2 separate regions of the Homo sapiens genome follow, and region 1 is linked to region 2. Evidence: promoter capture Hi-C in human tissues and cell types (Jung and others, 2019). All regions are on one chromosome and are shown on one strand. Each heading gives the region's core, a stretch centred on a gene start or on the middle of the fragment in contact. The rest is flanking DNA. Distances are from core to core; before and after follow the strand shown.

The links. Contacts are between HindIII fragments. The study calls those that stand out against the background at their distance.
Region 1: a fragment that was not itself captured here is called in contact with the fragment with the promoter of RNF216 in region 2 in 1 of the 25 tissues and cell types used here (dorsolateral prefrontal cortex).

The regions. Positions count from the first base shown.
Region 1 is chr7:5,352,663-5,356,695 of GRCh38, reverse strand. All of the region lies in intron 16 of TNRC18 (trinucleotide repeat containing 18), which reads left to right. Among named protein-coding and RNA genes, the nearest start is that of TNRC18-AS1, 65 kb to the left of the region's middle. RefSeq lists an enhancer at 71-573. The HindIII fragment of the contact is 4,908 bases long and covers 1-4,033 here.
Region 2 is chr7:5,778,953-5,783,480 of GRCh38, reverse strand. RNF216 (ring finger protein 216) reads left to right here and starts at 1,818. Exons shown (of 17, transcript NM_207111.4): 1 at 1,818-1,940. RefSeq lists a silencer at 2,020-2,409. The HindIII fragment of the contact is 32,599 bases long and covers 1-4,528 here.

The sequences.
Region 1 (4,033 bases), core at 812-3,311, 430 kb after region 2:
CCAGGCAGGTGCTTGTGATTGGTGGGCGCCCGTGATTGGCGGTTGGGAGCCGACCTCCGCCGGCCCTGTCTTGCCCGCCCGCCATTTGCCTACCGGATGTCATAGGCGAGGAAGCCTTGTGCGTCATAGAGTTTGCGGCTGTTTGGCCTAGAGAGGCCTGGAGCGCGACTGCTCTTGAGGGTCCTAGAGGTGACCGGACTCCCCTACCCACAGGAAGCATGCCGTCTGTTGCGGACCACGGCTTTGTCGCGAAGTGTTGGCGGAAGCAGTGTTTATGGAGCGCCCACCGTGCTCGGCTATGGATGCAGGGGTTCATTGGCGTTACTGTGTCTGTGGCAGCTCTGACAGTGGTACCCCCATGTTGTTACTGGGGATGATGTGGCCCGAGAGCCAGAGGGGAGTGTGTGCGCTCGGGTGCGGAGAGGCGACTCGGGGTTAAACCTGGTTCGGCCCGACCCACCTACCCACTGGAACCTGCTGCCATCATGGCTGTGTCCCACTATTTTCTTTCTTTTTTTTTTTTTTTTAATTTGAGACGGAGTCTCACTCTGTCGTCCAGGCTGGAGTGCAGTGGTGCGATCTTGGCTCACTGCAACTTCTAGCTCCTGGGTTCAAGCGATTCCCTTGGCTCTGCCTCCCGAGTAACTGGGACTACAGGCTTGTGCCACCACACCCAGCTAATTTTGTATTTTTAGTAGAGACGGGGTTTTGCCATGTTGGCCAGGCTGGTCCTAAACTCCTGACCTCAGGTGATCCACCTGCCTCGGCCTGCAAAGTGCTGGGATTATGGGCGTGAGCTACTGTGCCGTGCGTTTTTTGAGACAGGGTCTCTTCTTATTGCTTAGGCTGGAGTGCAGTGGGGCCATCATAACTCACTGCAGCCTCGAGCTCCTGGGCTCAAGTGATCTTCCTGCCTTAGCCCTCCGAGTAGCTGGGACTAGGTGAGCACCACCACACCCGGCTAATTTTTAAAATTTTTTGTAGAGACAGGGTCTTGCAGTGTTTCCCAGGCTGGTGCCTGGGCTCAAGCAATCCTCCCCTCTGAACCTCCTGAGTATCTGGGACTACAGCTGTGTACCACCACGTGCAGCTAATTTATTTTTATTTTCGTAGAGATGGGGTCTCCCTGTTTTCCAGGCTAGTCTGGAACTCCTGGCCTTAAGCAAGCATCCCACTTTAGCCTCCCGAATAGCTGGGACCATAGGCGCACACTACTACTATTTTTATTTTTATAGAGGCTGAGTGTTGCTGTGTTGCCCATGCTGGTCTTAAACTCCTGGGATCAAGAGATCCTCCTGCCTCAGCCTCCCAAAGTGCTGGGATTACAGGCGTGAGCTGCCTTGCCTAGCTGCTATTGAGCTCTTGAAATGGAGCATTCCTGATGGGACTGAAGAATGGAGTTTTATCTCATTTAACAAGAGACTGTCAGATTGGAGCGTCCTCATGGTTATGGCCTCTTGTGGCCCAGAACCTGCTGCCTGGCAGGTAGTGGGTGCTTGCTCAGTATCTGTGGACAGAGCACCTCATGCCCAGGGCGGACAGGTGCTAAGTTTGTGGCTAGCTGCAGGGAGGCCAGAAGGAGGGAGCTTCCTGGGTTCTGGCCCATGTCAGTGTCAGTGGTGTTTGTTCTGGGAATCCCCAGGCCCTGGGGCGGGTGGAGAGCTTTTGCATTGGCAGCTGCCTGGTTCTGTGTGTCTGGGGCTTTTGATTGGCTCTGGCCGGTTCATGGGCGGAGAAGGGGGAGTTTGACTGTCAAGGGCGAAAAGTCGCCGTGTTTATTGATACCGTAAAGCATGTTTTCTTAAGGAAATAAAAAGTGTTTATGGACTCAGAGTTAAGATATCGTCACCTGCTTTACGGGGTCGTTGGGGGCCTTAAGTGAGCTTACGTGGGCAGAGAGCTGAACGTGGCACCTGGCACGGAATTAAGCTGCTAGTTTTTTCAGGGTGCGTGTGTTTCGTCTGTCCTAGGCTAGCAGGTCACCAGGACTCATGCTCCCTGTGGGTGTGAGTTAAGCAGCTGGCTCATGCCTTCTGTGCTGAGGACATATGAGAGTGTCGTGGTTTCAGTGCTTCTTTGATTGGGATGGGTGTGATCAGAGCAGTGTAGCCTAGGCTCCTGGCCAGTGTGTGGGCACAAGCAGGAAGAGACAGTGCCAGAGACTCATCACTCTGAGGGGGAAGGGAGGGGCTTTCTTTTGCTCTCTCAATCTCTGCTCATTTTGGAAAAGTGAAGGGGGTTCAGGGAAGTCGGGGGAGATTGCTGTTCTTTTGATCTTCTGAGGGATTGGGGTCTGTGGATGCAGTTTGGGTGGTAGCTGAAAGAATTCCCCACTTTCAGGTGGACGTGGATGGGGTGGAGCTGGAGGTCAGAGATGTGCTCTGTCTCTGATGTCTCTGGGGTGCTCCGAGCTGGTGTGTTCACTCTTGGCACGTGTGAGGGAATGTCCGTTTTATTTATTTATTAATTATTACTATTATTATTATTATTTTGAGATGGAGTTTTGCTGTTTTTGCCCAGGCTGGAGTACGGTGGCATGATCTCGGCTCACTGCGACCTCCGCCTCCCGGGTTCAAGTGATTGTCCTGCCTCAGCCTCCTGAGTAGCTGGGGTTACAGGCACGCACCACCACACCCAGCTAATGTTGTTATTTTTAGTAGAGACGGGGTTTCACCACATTGGCCAGGCTGGTCTTGAGCTCCTGACCTCAGGTGATCCGCCTGCCTCGGCCTCCCAAAGTGCTGGGATTAGAGGCATGAGCTGCCGTGCCTGGTCTGGGAATGGTCAAATGGGCAACTTCACTCCATCGTGCCTGTGTCGAAAACTCCACTGTCCTGGATGAGAGAAACGGACTCATGGAGCAGTGAGGAATTCAGTGGGCCTGGCTCCAGCAGGACGGTGGCTGTGGGATTCACCTGGCTCTGCAGAGCGCTCCTCTGTTTATTTTTTATAATCTGCTTTTCTGCAATTCTGGGTCAGAGAGAGTGCAGGGTTCACAAGGAGGTAGGGGTGTGTCCAGCAGGGAGTTGCTGAGCTGGACGGAGGTCGAAGCGAGAACGGTCTCCTCTTGCTTTTTCAGTTTCGATTGTAGGGGTCGCTGGCATGCCCTGTGGGTTTTTTTTTTTTTTTTTTTCTTTAGATGATGTCTTGCTCTGTCGCCCAGGCTGGAGTGCAGTGGTGTGATCTCGGCCGCACTGCAACCTCCACCTCCCGGGTTCAAGTGATCCTCCCACCTCAGCCTCCGGAGTAGCTGGGATAACAGGCCCTGTCCACTACAATACAATACAAATAGAAAATACAACAGTTTGTGTATTTTTTAAAAATACAGACGGGGTTTTGCCATGTTGGCCAGGCTGGTCTCGAACTCCTGGCCTCACGTGAGCTGCCCGCCTCAGCCTCCCAAAGTGGTAGGATTACAGATGCAAGCCATTGCACCCGACCTCCCTGTGGGTTCTTGTAGGAGGCCAAGTTGGTTGTCACCCACTTAGCCTCTCCAGCCTGGGACACAGCCTCGGGAGGGACAGATTGGAGCATACAAGAGAGAGCGCACTTTGACTGGTTCGATGGGCAGGGGCTGGTAGCCTGGCGGGGCTGGACCCTTGTCCCACCCAAGAGTTGCCGGACCATCCTGAGGTTGGGGTCTTGCTGGAGTGAAAGCTTAGGTGTTGGTGGGAGCAGTCAGAGGAATGCCCGCCACGGATGCGTGCATGTGGTTTCTCTTGGACTCGGAGGTGGCAGGTGCTGCCAGAGCTGTAGCTGTGTTGGTTCACGTTCCCCCCGTCTGGAGTGGATTTCAGCAGATCAGGGGATTATTCTCTGTCTCTGGAACCCCTGTCTTCCCATCTTGCCCAGTAAGAAAAGCAGATCAAAATGGCGTGAGCATGGCGGGGGCCGGAGCGTTGCCTGCCTGGCAGGCTCCCCTCCCAAAGCTGGCTGGTTGTCTCCCCGGAAGATTTGAAGACTCTTGTCCTCCGTTGTATAGTTAGGCTGGAGACTCTGGGGAAGCCAGCAGTGGTGGGCCGGCTCACTGGCT
Region 2 (4,528 bases), core at 569-3,068:
TGCAATCATAGCTCACAGCAGCCTCGGACTCCTGGGCTCAAACAATCCTCTGGCCGGGTTTAGTGGCTCGCTCCTGTAATTCCAGCACTTTGGTAGGCCGAGGTGGGTAGATTACCTGAGGTCAGGAGTTCAAGACCAGCCTGGCCAACATGGTGAAACCCTGTCTCTACTGAAAATACGAAAATTAGCCGGGCGTGGTGGCACATGCTTGTAATCCCAGCTACTCAGGAGGCTGAGGCAGGAGAATCGCTTGAGCCCAGAAGGTGGAGGTTGCAGTGAGCCAAGATCGTGCCACCGCACTCCAGCCTGGCTGACAGAGTGAGATTCTGTCCAAAAAAACAAAACAAACAAAACAAAACAAAACAAAAAAATCCTCCCACCTCAGTCTCCTGAGTAGCTGGGACTATAGGTGCGCACCACCATGCCCGGCTAATTTTTATTTTTGTAAAGATGGGGTCTTACTCTATTGCCCAGGATCGTCTCAAACTCCTGGCTTCAAGCCATCCTCCCACCTCCATTTCCCAAAATGTTCGGATTCCAGGTATAAGCCACTATGCCCAGCCCAGACTCATTTATCTAATTACTGACTTGATATCTCTACTTGAAGGTGTACTTGGCAATTTTTTTTTTTTTGAGACACAGTCTCACTCTGTTACCCAGGCTGAAGTGCAGTGGCATAATCACTGCACTACAACCTCCCCCTCCTCGGTTCAAGCAATTCTTGTGCCTCGGCCTCCCGAGTAGCTCGGATTACAGGCACGCACCACCATGCCCAGCTAATTTTTGTATTTTTAGTAGAGACGGGGTTTCACCATGGTGGCCAGGCTGGTCTCGAACTCCTGACCTCAAGTGATCTGCCTGCCTCGGCCTCCCAATGTGCTGGGATTACAGGCGTGAACCACCACGCCTGGCCAGCAATTATTTTAAGAGTTGGGGTCTTGCTATTTTGCTAAGGCTGGTCTTGAACTCCTGGCCTCAAGCGATCCTCCTGCCTTGGCCTTCCAAAGCGCGGGGATTATGGACATGAGCCACTGTGCCCAGCAGGAGCAGTATTTTAGTCAGTTATTCACTTGCTCACTAAAACCTAAACTTCCTGAGGCCAGGAACACATTTTACTTTTTTTTTTTTTCGAGATGGAGGGTTGCTCTGTTGCCCAGGCTGGAGTGCAGGGGCGCCATGTTGGCTCACTACAACCTCCGCCTCCCAGGTTCAAGTGATTTTCCCGCCTCAGCCTCCTGAGTAGCTGGGATTACAGGCATCCGCCACCATGCCTGGCTAATTTTTTTATTTTTGGTAGAGACGGGTTTCACCATGTTGGCCAGGCTGGTCTCCAACGTCTGACCTCAAGTGATCCACCCGCCTTGGCCTCCCAAAGTGCTGGGATTACAGGCGTGAGCCACTGTGCCCAGCCATGGGACCCACTTTACTCTTAATTTCCCCAATTCCTAGAACAGTGTGTGGCCCACAGGAAATCCGCAGAATATATTTGCAGAATGAATGAATGACTTGCCAAACGAATTAGGGCAAATCAGTAGATATCGAGTAAACATCCACAACCACCTGCCCCATACCCTTTTCAGCTCTGGGGAGATGGTGGCTCCTTGTGGGGTCGGATATGGGGGTCTCCTTTCCTTTCACCCTCCTGCCTCGTGGGGGAGTCAAGTCTCCGCAGGCGGAGAGCCCGGATGCAGGCGCGACTAGGCGGCCCTCTCTATGGTGAGCCCCCCGGTCCCTCCTCCGCAGTACCCGGAGTGCCTCTATGGTTCTTCCTGTCCTTAGTCGGGAGGGGGCGCTGTGCGCAGGCGCGAGGTGACGCCGCGGCAGGGCCGGAAGGAGTGCAGCGGCTGCCACGGAGCTCGCAGCTGCGGCTTCTGAGGAGTAAGCGGCGCGGTAGCGAAGGCCGCCGAACCTGCCTGGCTAGCCGGCGACTTGAGTGACGAGTGAGTGTCGGCTGCGGGGCGCGCTCGAGCTCCTGGGCGGGTCTGTGAGGCGACGCGGCCTCTCTGAGGGGCGCCTCTGTGGAGCTCCGGGGGTGGGGGCGGGGGCGCGGGCCGTGAGGGCCGCCGAGCTGAGGGGCGCGGGCCGAGGCCCGGGCGGGATCGGGCCAAGGGGCTGGGCTGGGCGTCTCGAGCCCGGTGCGGTGGCGAGGCTGGAGCGACAAAGGCGCTGAGCGGCCGGGTGGCCCCCTCTCGCCACTTCGCGAAGTTTCGCGGGCCGGCCCCTCGGGTCTGCTGCGCGAGGGCAACAGCCCGGGAGACCGCGCTTCCCTCCCCCGGGCCCGAGGCCGCCGCGGAGGCGGTGTCCGTGCACCCGAGCGCGGCCTGGAGGAGCGGCGGGAGGCGGGCCGTGCCTGTGAACCCCAGCCCAGGCGGGCGGCGTTTTTCCTCCTCTTCCCTCACATCTGGAGCGCGTGTTCCGCGAAAGTTGGCGACTGTCACCCGGCACTCGCGAGGGCGCCGCAAGTGCGTCAAACCCTTCTGCGGGGCGCTGGGGGCTGGCCCGGCTCGGGTGTCCGGGCGCTGGGCAGCGAGCGAGGCCGCTGTCCCCGCGTCGAGGTGGTTCTGCTCCCGGTGGAACAGGACCAGGGATCCAAGACTCTGGGCCACTTGCAACCAACCCTGGAGCGTGCGCGGCGTGCGGGTTACAGAAATTTCTGACAAATCCGACAGGGCTCTGTAAATCCCTAAGGGCCTGGGTAGCAGCTGTCCTAGGTACTTAGATCGTGCAAAGAGAACGTTCTTTTTTCTTTTACTTTTTTTTTTTTCTCCTTTTCTTTGAGACGGAGTCTTGCTCTGTTGCCCAGGCTGGAGTGCAGTGGCGCGATCCCGGCTCACTGCAAGCTCTGCCTCCCGGATTCAAGCGATTTTCCTGCCTCAGCCTCACAGGGATTGCCTCAGCTGGGATTACAGGCATTTGCCACCACGTCCAGCTAATTTTTGTATTTTTAGTAGAGACGGGATTTCTCCGTGTTGGCCAGGCTGGTCTCTAACGTCTGACCTCAGGTGATCCCTCCGCCTCGGCCTCCCAAAGTGCTACAGTCTTTTCAAAAGACGTTTCAGATATGTTCTCCGGGACCCTCGGGCCCTTCAGTAAGAAGCGCCCTGGCTGAAAACCCACACGTTCACCTACAGAAGAAGCACTGTGACGTAGAGGGTGAGCAGAGCAGAGGGCCTCACAGTGGCCCTCACATGCACCTGGCTCCAGCCTGGCCAGGTCATTTTGCCCTGGTGGGCCTGTGCCTCAAAAATGGGGTTTCTTCCCTTGTGAGGAAGACCCATGAATTAGTAACGGAATTGCCAGGAATGCTAAAAACTATCTAAATGCCATGTATTGTTTTCAAGCTGTTACTCCTGGAAGGGGCTGGGTTGGCATTGTTTTAGAGGTTAGGAGCCAAACATCAGCTCATCTATTCTCCAGCTGTTGTTTGTCCTCCATCTTCCTGCAATAGTCAGGCACAGGGTCTTATAAAAATGGGTTTGTGCTGCTGTATGTTTCGGTGGGTACCTTTGTTTACTGAATGGGATGTAGGTGGGGGACCAGAGCATATCCGCGTCCCTCGGAAACAGTGGCGTTTTAGATGTAGTATGTCCCGTCAGCTCCTCTCTGCCCCACCCACCCCAGCCCATTCATTGAGCATTTTTTTTTTTTTTTTGAGGCGGAGTCTGGCTGTATTTCCCAGGCTAAAGTGCAGTGGTGCCATCTCTGCCCACTGCACCCTCCGCCTGCCAGCTTCAAGTAATTCTCCTGCCTCAGCCTCCCGAGTAGCTGGAATTACAGGCGCGCACCACCACGCTCGGCTAACTTTTTTTTTTTTTTTTTTTTTTAAGAGACGGAGTCTAGCTGTGCTGCCCAACTCCTGGGTTTAAGTGACCCTCAGCCTCCCAAAGCACAAGAATTACAGGCTTTAGCCACCGTGCTCTGCCAGAACATTCTTTACGCGCTGAGAAGGGAGAGAAGCGGGAAGATTCTATGAAACATCTCAATTTAGTCGGCTTGCTTTAAGGAAGAAGGCTAATACATGGCCTGGCTTTGCCTTGGTTTTGTATTTCATAATTTATTGCGCCTGGGGTGTGGGGAGTAGTGGTGGATTTGAGGAAATGCCTGGAGAGTCTGGGCCAGATTTTGGACCCCCTGGCAAACCTCATTCGAGGCTTTAGATTTTTACCCTGATTAGAGCAGCAGCAGCTAATAAAAGAGAACTCCTGAAGCCCCTGTGGAGAAATCTGATAAAGAAGGGTTAGGTGTGAGTGAGGCAGATCGAAAGTTGATGAATAGGATAGTTGAGAGAGCTGGTATTTGCTGATTCTACTACCAGCTACTATTTAATGTGTTTACAAAATTCTAGGCATTGCTATATTCTAGCTCTTTAGAGACATAATTCATTCTCATACCTGATATCATTATATTTGCATTATTGTTAAAGATAATAGAACATAGTTGGGAATGGTGTGGCTCACGCCCGTAATCCCAGCACTTTGGGAGGCCGAGGCGGGCAGATCACCTAAGGTCAGGAGTTCGAGACCAGCCT